2 separate regions of the Homo sapiens genome follow, and region 1 is linked to region 2. Evidence: promoter capture Hi-C in human tissues and cell types (Jung and others, 2019). All regions are on one chromosome and are shown on one strand. The core of a region is centred on a gene start or on the middle of the fragment in contact, and the rest is flanking DNA. Distances in the headings are between cores, read along the strand shown. Region 1 overlaps PRKAG2 (protein kinase AMP-activated non-catalytic subunit gamma 2). Region 2 holds the start of CRYGN (crystallin gamma N).

Region 1 (5,964 bases), core at 1,850-4,349, 170 kb after region 2:
CAGCAAATGAAGCACGCAGGTTTAAAAGAACACTGGTGAATCTAGATTTAATAACCAGTATAAAAAAACAAAACAAAACAAAAACCTTTATATACCTTTATAAGATTAAAGGATTACCTTTATATTCCTTTATAAGATTAAAGGATTAGACATGGATTTTTTTTTTTGTAAGAGAAATAATGCACCTATGAAAGTGCCTCATGTGATTTTTTTCTCTTTCTTTCTTTCTTTTTTGTTCAAGATGGGGTCGCACACTATGTTGCCCAGCCTGGCCTCAAACTCCTTGGTTCAAGGGATTCTCCCACCTCAGCCTCCCACATAGCTGGGACTATAGGCATACACCACTGCAATTTTTGTTTTTTTAAGTGAAACAGCATTGATCTAAATAAAGCTTTAACATGTTTACAAGTATATTTTATATTGAAGCTATTTTCTAATTCTATTAGACAAAAAAATGCAGTTGAATTGAATAAGATTGCAGAAGACCTTCAAATGTTCATTCTACCATACACATTTTAAAAACACCTGCAAATACAGCAAACAACTGGACAAGTATGTTTCAGAGATAAGCACTACAGTCATCAATTACTTTTTCTGAAACCCATTTACACAGAATTTTAATTTAGAAAGAATTTATATAAAAAAAATGTGTTGTAAGACGGTGTAATTCTTTGGTCTTCTTGGCCTTAATTCTATGAAAATGAACAAGACAGACTATCACTAATCATTTATTAGTCAGGCAAAAATACTAAAGGATAATTTAACAGACACATACCAGTATGAAATTCATTTTACTTATACACCTTAATCAAACTAAGAGCAGGATAGTGACTCAAAATGGATTTCAACGTGTCCTATTTATAAAAATAACAACTGCTAAAATAATCCACTACTAACCAGACAGTTACCATCAATCTGCCCGTCCCAGGTTCTCTCCCCACTGATACTGGCAACACCCACACAGTGAGGGAATAGACGCCCCGAGAAGCAGAGCGTGAGGACTCACTTCCCACCCTCAAGTTCCACACTTCTTTTGGTCCAGTCCTGGAACTCTTGTTTAGTCTAGAAGGAGGATTGTCCCATCACTCCTGGGAATGGTTACTCCAATTTCAGAAGGGGTTGGCCTCAACTAGAAAAGGAAGCTTCTAACGTGAGAAGAAAAGAAGACCTTCTGAGAAAACAGTCCAGGCTTAGCGGTTCCGTGCCCACCATTTGGGGCTCCCTCACCACACGATCTGGGTGACTGACTGCAGACACACCTCTCCTGCCATGAGCAGCACGAACTTGCTGACCTAGTCCTATCACCTGTGTAGCTGGCTCTACCCCGGAGGCTGCCAACACCACCTTTATCTCATGCTCCACATTTTAATATGTCAACATACACAGGGACTGCTGCTTACTTTCCAGACTATAAGAACCTTAGTGTGGCTCACATCTGTAATCCCAGCACTTTCGGAGGCCGAGGTGGGCGGAACACGAGGTCAGGAGATCGAGACCATCCTGGCTAACACGGTGAAACCCCGTCTCTACTAAAAATACAAAACCAAAATTATCCGGGCATGGTGGCGGGTGCCTGTAGTCCCAGCTACTTGGGAGACTGAGACGGGAGAATGGCGTCAACCTGGGAGGCGGAGCTTGCAGCAAGCCGAGATTGCGCCACTGCACTCCAGCCTGGGCGACAGAGCGAGTCTTCATTTCAAAACAAACAAACAAACATTTTAGTGTGGGCTGGGCGCGGTGGCTTACGGCTGTAATCCCAGCACTTTGGGAGACCGAGGCAGGCGGATCACGAGGTCAAAAGATTGAGACCATCCTGACCAACATGGTGAAACCCTGTGTCAACTGAAAATACAAAAATTAGCTGGGCGTGGTGGTGCGCACCTGTAGTCTCAGCTACTCTGGAGGCTGAGGCAGGAGAATTGCTTGAACCCAGGAGGCAGAAGTTGCAGTGAACTGATATCGCGCCACTGCACTCCAGCCTGGGGGACAGAGCGAGACTCCATCTCAAAAACAAAAAACAAAAAACAAAGCCTTAGTGTGTTAGCATATTATAAATATTTTTTCTTTTCTTTTTTTTTTTTTTTTTTTGAGATGGAGTCTTGCTCTGTCACCCAGGCTGCAGTGCAGTGGTGCAATTTTGCCTTCTCCTGGGAGTGGTGCAACCTCCATCTCCTGGGTTTAAGTGATTCTCCTGCCTTAGCTTCCTGAGTAGCTGGGATTTCAGGCGCCCACCCCCATGCCTAACTAATTTTTGTACTTTTTTTGGTAGAGATGGGGTTTCACCATGTTGGCCAGGCTGGTTTTGAACCTCTGACCGCAGGTGATCCGTCCACCTTGGCCTCCCAAAGTGCTGGGATTACAGGCGTGAGCCACCACACCCAGCCAATATTTTCAATTCAAAGTTGAGAAAATGGCCACAGGGAGCTCTAAATAAGTCATTTTTTATATTCTCTGCTTTTAAGTCAAAAGAAGGAACAGAGAAGAGATGCGTGCAGGGTGGGAGCAGAGCACACTGGGGTCAGAATGCCAAGGAGGACTTCCCCATCTGGAACCCACACACAGAGAGCAGCGGAGTGCTGATCGATGGTTACACCCCTCGGCATCTTCCTCTCTGTATTCTATACCCATTATGCGAAGATTTTGTCCACAGAACCACCTTCGTTTACTAAGCAATGCTTGCTGCGGTTTCAAAGGTGCTCAGATCCAGGGCGGTGCAGCGCTTGCCAGAGGCCGCCCTGTTCCAGGATCCGTTCCTCAGCTTCATGCTTAATTTTGTAACCATCAGTCTTCTAGGGACTTGGTGATTCAAGTGAAATAAATCAGTAAGTGATGAGGAAACTGAAATATCAATTAAGTGGTAAAGAGATGGAGGCCAGGTTAGTGAGCACAGACTGAGAAAGGAATGATCTGATCCATGAGTGAGGCGTGGATCCAGCAGAGCCGAGCCCACCCCATCCCACCAGGACAAGTGGCAGGAACCGCAGGGAAAGCTGGAAACACAACAGCTTTCTTAGAAAAGACGTTGGCGCACTTACGTGGGGTGGTCCAGATCTCACACTCATCATCTCAGACAACATTAAGATGGTAAAAAAGCAGTCTCGGGCCGGGCACGGTGGCCCATACCTGTAATCCCAGCACTTTGGGAGGACGAGGCGGGCAGATTACTTGAGGTCAGGAGTTCGAGACCAGTCAGGCCAACATGAAACCTCAGCTAAGATACAAAAATTAGCTGGACGTGGTGGTGCACACCTGTGGTCCCAGCTACTCGAGAGACTGAGGCTTGAGAATGTCTTGAACCTGGGAGGCGGAGGATGCAGTGAGCTGAGATTGTGTCACCGCACTCCAGCCTGGACGACACAGTGAGACTCCGTCAGCACCAATGTGTTACTCCCTTCAGCACTTTCTGTGCTCCCTTTTGTGGGAGGACAGCGACACCAGCATCACTAAAGGAGCTGAATTAAATGCAGTGCTTTTGACTTTGGACTTACATGCAGAGAGAAAGAGGAGAGTTGAGTAACATGCTCAGCCTGTCTCTCCCCAGGATGCCCATCCTCTGCTGAACCTGCCCGCAGGTTTGGGAGCCGCTGAGTGCACTGCAGAGTGAGCGTCAGCTACCACAGTCCCTTCTTGCAGGGTGTTCCTAGTTTAATCCTTATCTGTACTTGTGAAATGGAAGGTTTATGCCTTGCTAGAGAGCTTTTAGGTATAAGGCTTGTCAACTCTAAAATCACACTGCAGAGACCTGCAGTGTGCCTCTCCCCTACTGACCCACACAGGTAGGGGACAGAGTTGGAGGCCCCAAGCACAGAGCCCTGCCTAGGCAAGACACTGCCACTGCTGCTCACTGTGAAGCAACCTGGGGAACCCCCTGCTTCCACCTGTTCTGTCCCATCAGCAGGCGTAGGGGCTGCTGCCATGGTCTGGTTCTGCCCCCCATCACTCCAACTCTGTGCACTGCCTGGCGGTTGTCACCAGTCCAGGGGTCTGACCAGCGTACCCACCTCTGCCTGCTCACCTTCATAGTGCACAGCCCCATTTCTAAGATGATGCTCAGCGAGTGACCGTCTATGGGACCATTCCCAAAGGCACAGGTGCATGGGGAACCCCAAGAAATAGTGCAATAACCTGAAGCTGTTACCAGCCCTAGACCTGGGGTGAGGAACAGTTACAAAACCTGGAAGGAGAGAGTTTCAGGTAGAGCCAGTCCCCTTGGGTGGGGCAGCGACCTTCATTCGAGCAGTCCAGCCAGGTAGCGGCAGCCTCCCAGGATGAGGGAGCTACAGGAGTAACCACCTGCCTCCTCTGGGGGCTCCTCACTGGCTAAGCTCAACAGGACCCCAGAATACGGGAGCCCAGCCGATGTGTCCCACACTCAGCCTCCCTGGTGAGAAAGACAGGTGAGGCAGGGTGAAAATGGGACCTGGGGGCAAACAGGAGCTACCTGCGGCACTCTAAGACTGGGCAGATGGAAGAAAGACAGTTGGGGTTGACGCAGTATCTTCTACAATAACGCCTGAAATAACTTAAACTTTGTTTTCAGAAATTATTATTTGTAATAGCAATAAAAGGCATGAACATGTTTTCCAAAAATAACAACAGTGATATACACAGGTTGAGCATCCCAAATCTGAAAACCTGAAATCTGAAATGCTCCAAAATCCAAATTTTTTTGAGCATCCATACTACACTCAAGGGAAAAGCTCATCAGAGCATTTCAGATTTTGGATTTTTGAATTAGGAATGCTCAACTGGTATGTATGATGCAAATACTCAAAAATCTGAAAAAATACTAAATCTGAAACATTCCCAGTCCCGAGCATTTTGGTTTTTATTTTATATATGTTTGAGATGGAGTCTCGTTCTGTCACCCAGGCTGGAGTGCAGTGGTAGGATCTAGGCTCACTGCAACCTCTGGCTTCTGGGTTCAAGTGATTCTCCTGACTCAGCCTCCCAAGCAGCTGGGATTACAGGCACCCACCACCACGCCTGGCTAATTTTTGTATTTTTAGTAGTGATGGGGTTTCGCCACGTTGGTCAGGCTGGTCTTGAACTCCTGACCTCAGGTGATCTGCCCAGCTTGGCCTCCCAAAGTGCTTACAGGTGTGAGCCACTGTGCCCGGCAGCAGTCCCAAGCATTTTTTTTTTTTTTTTGAGATGGAGTCTCGCTCTGTTGCCCAGGCTGGAGTGCAGTGGACGATCTCGGCTCACTGCAACCTCTATCTCCCGGGTTCAAGCGATTCTCCTGCCTCAGCCTCCCAAGTAGCTGGGATTACAGGCGCACACCACCACCCCTGGCTAAGTTTCATATTTTTGGTAGAGACAGGCTTTCGCTATGTTGGTCAGGCTGGTCTCGAACTTCTGACCTCAGGTGATCCACCTTACCTCCAACTCAGACACCCCCGCTCCAGTGACCAACTCTCTGGTCTCACTGGAGCCGACCAGGAGGTGCCCCGTTCCCACGGCTATGCTGAGCGCCCCAGCCAGCACTCCAACACGGCCTGTCAGGGGAGGTGACGCTGTCTCCAGCTGTGTCTTGAAGGCAGGAAAAGGGATTCCAGGCAGAGGCCTGAGCCCCTCAGATCTGAGGGTATCCTCAGGAGCTCGCAGGGGACATGGGGCAGGGGCTGGCACCCCATGGCGATGGGGGAGCAGCAGCAGGGTGGCAGGGAGGCCATGGGGTCGGTTACGTTGGGCGCTTGGCATGTGCTCTGTACTACTTTATCCTGGAGGTGACCAGAAGCCACACAGGGGCTCACACAGGAGGCTGAAAAAATCAGGGCTGCGTGGACGCTCAGTCAGAGGAGAAAAGAGGCAGAGCAGTCAGTGGACGTCTCTGAGACCCTGCTCCCTCCATCGTGACTCTCCGTCCCATCCCTGCGTGCTCTCCTTCACCTCCGCCCCTCACCAGCTTGCTTCCCGCTCTCTCTCCCCATCTCCACTTGACCTTGTGGTGGTTCACTCCAC
Region 2 (5,900 bases), core at 104-2,603:
AAGAGGGCTTATAAGTGCCACCCTGTCTCTCTGTGTTTTGTAGGTCACTCCTTTGGGTAGCAGGCATGTATCAGATCTGGAGCTCCATCACCCTGCTGGGAGTTCAGACATCGTGTCTTATAGCTACGTGGCACTCACAGGTTGTCCTTGTCCCGAAACAAAACAAAGTGAAGCAATAACAACCCGCCAGACTCATTTCCTGCTGTGGAACCTAAAATCTCAACCATTTAGTAACTCTTTGGGTTTCAAGAACTGTGGCCCTAGAAGGGTCCTGCCAGAGTGCAGTGATGTTCCCCATCACTATGGTCGCTTGTGCCTCACCAGTGTCTCCAGTTCGCTCAAAAGAACACGAGAATTGCCCTTCCAGGCCCCTTGGAGTCAGGCGTGGCCACATGCGTTCACCGGAAAGGAGGCAGACACCTTGGCGTTCTGCACCCCAGAGTTACTGGGGCCCTTTGTTACTGAAGCATCACCTGGCCCATGCAGACTGATACAGCAACACAGTCACCCCCAGACACTCTGGAATGTGGCCTTGGAGACCAAAGGCTTCATGGGAGTGGCTAGGCTAGGGGCACTGGAGAGGGCGAGGGAGAGCCAGGTCTCCCGTCCTTCCTGCACCAGGCACGGCTGGTAGAGGGCCCCTGAAACCTTCAGGGAGGTCTGGGCACCAAAGGGATTCGGGGCTCCCTCAAATCTCAACATTTTTCAGAGAACCAGCCCTAAGTGTCCCTGAAGAGACCCTGGGAAGGAAAAGCCATAGAGGCCAGCCTTGGGCAAAGAAGCCGCAGCAGTGGGGCGGAGGGCTGTGGGACAAGCCAAGCCTCCCCCACCCCAAGGAAGCCCCAGGGAGTCTGAACACCCTCCCTGCTCCTGACTGCAGGGCGAGGGGTTGGAATCCCAGAAGGAAGGAGTGGAGATGGAGACCTTCCTATCCATCCACACCAGAGAGGCCCCAGGCCAGTAGCGAGGCCACCCCATTTTATTAAGAAATTAAACCAGCTTCCCTTGGATTTGTCACCATCAACAGTGTGCACCCTCCTGCATCCCCTAGCACAGGGGGCGAAGGCGGAGCCCCACTCGGTTTCCTTGGGGTTGAGGGACGCACTCACCTTCCCCGAGCGCTGCGCCATGGTGCGCCCCGCCCCTTCCGCGGGTCCCCGTTTACACCGGGCAGCGCCCTGCTGGCTCAGCGCCGCCCCGGACAAAAGATTTGCTGGGCCGGCCCCGGAGCGTTAGTGCTGTCGGGCGTGCTAAGCCCGAGGGGCCACCAGGCGGTTGGGACCCGCCGCGGCCACCCTGTGCCACCGCGAGTGCAGCCCGCCCTGCCCGGGGTCTCCCTGTGCTCTCCGCGTTTAGCTCCCGAGCCTCCTTCCTCCCTGAGCCCTCCCGCCCAGCCCGCGGCTGCCCCTGCCCTGCCCTGGAGTGGTGGGGGGAGGAGGGGAGGTGTCTCTCTAGCCCTCCAACCTTTCTTCCCCTGCGCTGCCCCTCAGCCCTCACGCCCATCTCCCTCCCTCCCAAGGCCTGTTCCGAGCTCCCCAGCCCACTCCCCTTTCTCACCTGGCTGCAGGTAGTCTCGCCTTGGTGCCAACTTGTTTGTCTCCACGAGGATGCAACCCAAGCTTCCCCGGACAGACAGACAGCCCTTGACCGCCCCTCCCCTGGCTGCTCTGGTCTGAGCTCCCAGGTCCCCACCTTAGACCTCCGGCTCCAACTCACCCAGCTCCTGATGCACCCCCCCACACCCCACAAAACGCCAGGCCAGGTCAGGCCTCCCTCCTCCCGCTCTCTTCCTGCCTGCCTCCCTCCCTGGCACTCTCCCTCCCTGGGTCCCTCTCTCCTTGAAGATCCTGCCTAGGGTGACCAGGTGACCCGCGCTGCCCTGAGCTGGGGGTACAGTGCTCTGCCCCTTGCCTCTCTGCTGCACCAACTAAGCCACCCTGGACGCCCAGGATCAGTTTACAGCACAAAGCAGCCCCACCGCGGAGGGAGAGTTCCCCAGGGCCCAGAACGAGCACTTGGCAGACAGCAGAGGCTCAGAGATTGTGGAGTGAGCAGAGCGAACATGGAGCCCACAGGATGTGCAGCCCCCACACGGCTGGGGAGATGAGCTGGGAACACAGGACTCATGACTCAGATGGCTGGGGTGGTGGGGGACAGGCTCTGAGATCAAAGGAGAGAGGGGCAGGTGCTCCACAGGGGCTTCTGCTGGAGGGGAGGGAGGAGCTTTGGGGAGGAGTTTGGGCTGCTCTTCCTTCAAACAGTATATTTTTATGACCATTTCACAGATGAGACACTGAGGCCCAGGAAGAGGAGGTTATGTGATTCTTGGGGCAGAGGGGTGACCTTGCCTCTGCTGTGGGAGGTTTTCAAAAGTAGACAGGGTACAAACCAGAACCTGCATGTCACCCTTGAACCCAGGGACGGTCCTCCCTAGGGACGCCCCTCCCTAGGGACGCCGCCCAGCTGCCTCCACTGGCGCCCTTACTTGCCAAGCCACACATTCCAATGTTTCTCTCTGGACCTGGGCCCTGGTGGGGACATAAAATTAAAAACAAAATCTCCAGCCAACCCAGAAAACTTCTCCACGAAGGTAGAAGGAAAAAAAAACAATTTTATTATTGAATAAACTTTAAACTGGAATGCGATCTGCATCACGATCTCTCCCCTAAGAGATCGCAAAGATGGAGAGAGATCTCACTCTTCTGTAGCCAAGCAGACACAACCCACTGCATTCATGTTTTCAGGATAAAATTGCTGATTTTCTTGTATCTCTATGACTGGAGGTGGGTTTTGCAATTTGGAGTCAGGTGACAGCTGAAGTCAGGCTTCTTAGGAAACGGGGAGGGTGGGGGCACTTACTCCTTGATGTCAAGACTCAAAGAGGCTCCCAGAGGAAACATGACTGAGTTGTTAGACTGGCAAGAGGCTTGTTTAGCCATTAAAAAGATTTACACACATTTGAAAATGACAGAGAAGGAAATTCTGCAAGAAAAGGGAGGAAAGGGAAGCCTCTTCCCTTATTTTCAACAGGGAAAAATAAGCCTTAAAAAAAGGTTTTATTTTTTAGAGCAGCTTTAGGTTCAAGTTGAATTCAGCAAAAGGTACAGCAATTTCCTGTATACCCCCTGCCCCTACACACACACACACACACACACACACACACACACACACACACACAGAGCCTCCTCCACAATCAGCGCCCCCATTAGAGTGGTACATTTGTCACAGCCGATGAACCTATGTTATACATCGGGATACAGGATGAGAAGTTGAGAGAATGCGGCGTAGACTTTGTTAAAATAACACATTTTTAAAGCCTCCCCACATAATGTGGTTGATTTTTCACAGCTTGCTACTCTTTGTCCAGTTGAGTATGTAAGTGTTTGACTCTTAACTTTTTCTTTGGGTCTTCATCTCCTTATAAGGGCTCCCATGCCACATAAAACTTGTATTAAATAAGTTTGTATGCTTTTCTCTTGTTAATCTGTCTTAGGTCAATTTATTTCTCAGGCCCAGCCAGGACCCTAAGAGGATGGAGGTAGAACTTTGCTGCCTCTACAGTGTAATGCCATGGTTCCACCATTAGAGCACCAGGTAGAGTATTCTCACCACCTTAAAAGTCCCCTGTGTGGGCTGGGCACGGCGGCTCACACCTGTAATCCCAGCACTTTGGGAGGCCGGGGCGGGTGGATCACCTAAGGTCAGGAGTTTGAGACCAGCCTGGCCAACAGGGCGAAACCCTGTCTCTACTAAAAATACAAAAACTAGCCAGGCGTGGTGGCAGGCGCCTGTAATCCTAGCTACTCAGGAGGCTGAGGCAGTGAGAATTGCTTGAACCTGGAAGGTGGAGGTTGTAGTGAGCCAAGATTGCGCCACTGCACTCCAGCCTGGACGACAGAGTTAAACTCCGTCTCAAAAAAAAAAAAAAAAAGATAAAAAAAAAAGTCCCCTGGGCTCCATCTGTTTATCCCTCTCTCCCCCTTAACTCCTGGCAACCACTGATCTTTTTACTATCTTCACGGTTTTGCCTTTTTCAGGATGTCATGTATTTGGAATCTTACAGTATGTAGCTACTACGGTTTGAACGTGTCCCCCAAAACACATGTGTTGGAAACTTAATCCCCAATGCAACAATGTTGAAAGATGCGGTCTCATGGGAAGGGTTTAGGTCATGAGGGCTTCACCCTCATTCATGGATTAACGCTGACCATAAAGGGCTACAAGGTCAACCGCTTGCTCTCTCTCACCCTCTCTTTGCCCTTCTCCCATGGGATGATACAGCAAGAAGGCCCTTGAAAGATGCCAGCACCGTGATGTTAGACTTCTCAGCCTCCAGAACTGTGAGCCAGTACATTTGTGTTCATTGTAAATTACCCAGTCTGTGGTATTCTGTTATAGCGGCACAAAACGGACTAAGACAGCAAGTAGCTTTCTCAGATTGGTTTCTTCCACTTAGTAATATGCATTTAAGATTCCCTCATATCTTTTCCTGGCCTAGTCTCTCATTTCTTTTTACTGCTGAATCATGTTCCCTTGTCTGGAAGTACCACAGTTTAGTTATCTATTCATCAATGGAAGGACATTTTGGTTGTGTCCAAGTTTTGGCAATTATGAGGAAAGCTTCTATAAACAACCACGTGTAGATTTTTGTGTGCTCCTTTCACTATACACTAAGGAGTGGGATTGCTGGATCATATGTTACAGGTATGTTTAGTTGTGCAACAAACTGAAAAAAAAATAAAAGCCAGGTGCAGAGGCTTGTACCTGTAATCCCAGCTACTCAGGAGGCTAAGGCAGGAGGATTACTTGAGGCCGGGAGTTCAAGACCAGCTTGGACAACATAGCAAGACCCTGTCTCTAAAAAATTCAAAATCAAATCAAATAAAAAGAAACTGTCAAACTCTCTTTCAAAGTGGCTATATGATTTTTCATTCTGACCATTTGGTGCTATCAAGTTTTGGATTTTAGCCATTCAAATAAGTGTGCAGTGGTGTCTCATTGTTGTTTTAAGAGCTTTTTTTTTTTTTTTTTTTTGAGATGGAGTCTTGCTCTGTCCCCCAGGCAGGAGTGCAGTGATGCGATCTCAGCTCACTGCAATCTCTGCCTCCTAGGTTCAAGCAATTCTCCTGCCTCAGCCTCCCCAGTAGCTGGGACTACAGGTGTGTGCCACCACGCCCAGCTAATTTTTTTTTTTTTTTTTTTTTTTTTTTGGAGATGGAGTCTTGTTCTGTTGCCCAGGCTGGAGTGCAGTGGCGTGATCTCAACTCACTGCAACATCCACCTCCTGGGTTCAAGCGATTCTCCTGCTTCAGCCTCCCGAGTAGCTGGGACTACAGGCACACGCCGCCAAGCCTGGCTAGTTTTTTGTATTTTAGTAGAGATGGGGTTTCACCATGTTGCCCAGGCTGATATCAAACTCCTGAGCTCAGGCAATCCGCCTGCCTTGGCCTCCCAAAGTGCTAGGATTACAGGCGTGAGCCACCGCGCCTGGCCAATTTTTGTATTTTTAGTAGAGATGGGGCTTCACCACGTTGGCCAGGCTGGTCTTGAATGCCTGACCTCAAGTGATCCGCCTGCCTTGGCCTCCCAAAGTGCTGGGATTACAGGTGTGAGCCACTGTGCCCAGCTGAACTTCTTCTTTTTAATTTGTATTTGCCCTCATCACAGCAGGGCCAGAGCACACAGACAACCCAAAAAGGTGATGACAACAGAATCCAAAACAGAAGCAGTGATTTGGGGTGTTTTCTGAGAAATATATATGAAAAAATGCCTAGCTGAAAGCCCCACGCAAAGAATTATTAAAAATGGGTAGATGAATAAGATACCTGCAAATTTCACCTCCATTCCCTATTTCTAATGCAATATCTCAATTCCCACCTGGGATTTTATTATAATTCAGT

What was found. The method cuts DNA at HindIII sites, captures the fragments that hold promoters and counts their contacts. A contact is called where the count stands out against the background at its distance.
Region 1: a fragment that was not itself captured here is called in contact with the fragment with the promoter of CRYGN in region 2 in 2 of the 25 tissues and cell types used here (liver and spleen).

What each region holds. Positions count from the first base shown.
Region 1 is chr7:151,608,671-151,614,634 of GRCh38, forward strand. All of the region lies in intron 5 of PRKAG2 (protein kinase AMP-activated non-catalytic subunit gamma 2), which reads right to left. Among named protein-coding and RNA genes, the nearest start is that of RHEB, 92 kb to the left of the region's middle. The HindIII fragment of the contact is 8,202 bases long and covers 1-5,964 here.
Region 2 is chr7:151,438,788-151,444,687 of GRCh38, forward strand. It overlaps CRYGN (crystallin gamma N), which reads right to left and starts at 1,354. Exons shown (of 4, transcript NM_144727.3): 1 at 1,110-1,354. The coding sequence starts at 1,130. RefSeq lists enhancers at 133-633, 634-1,134, 1,846-2,382. The HindIII fragment of the contact is 10,973 bases long and covers 1-5,900 here.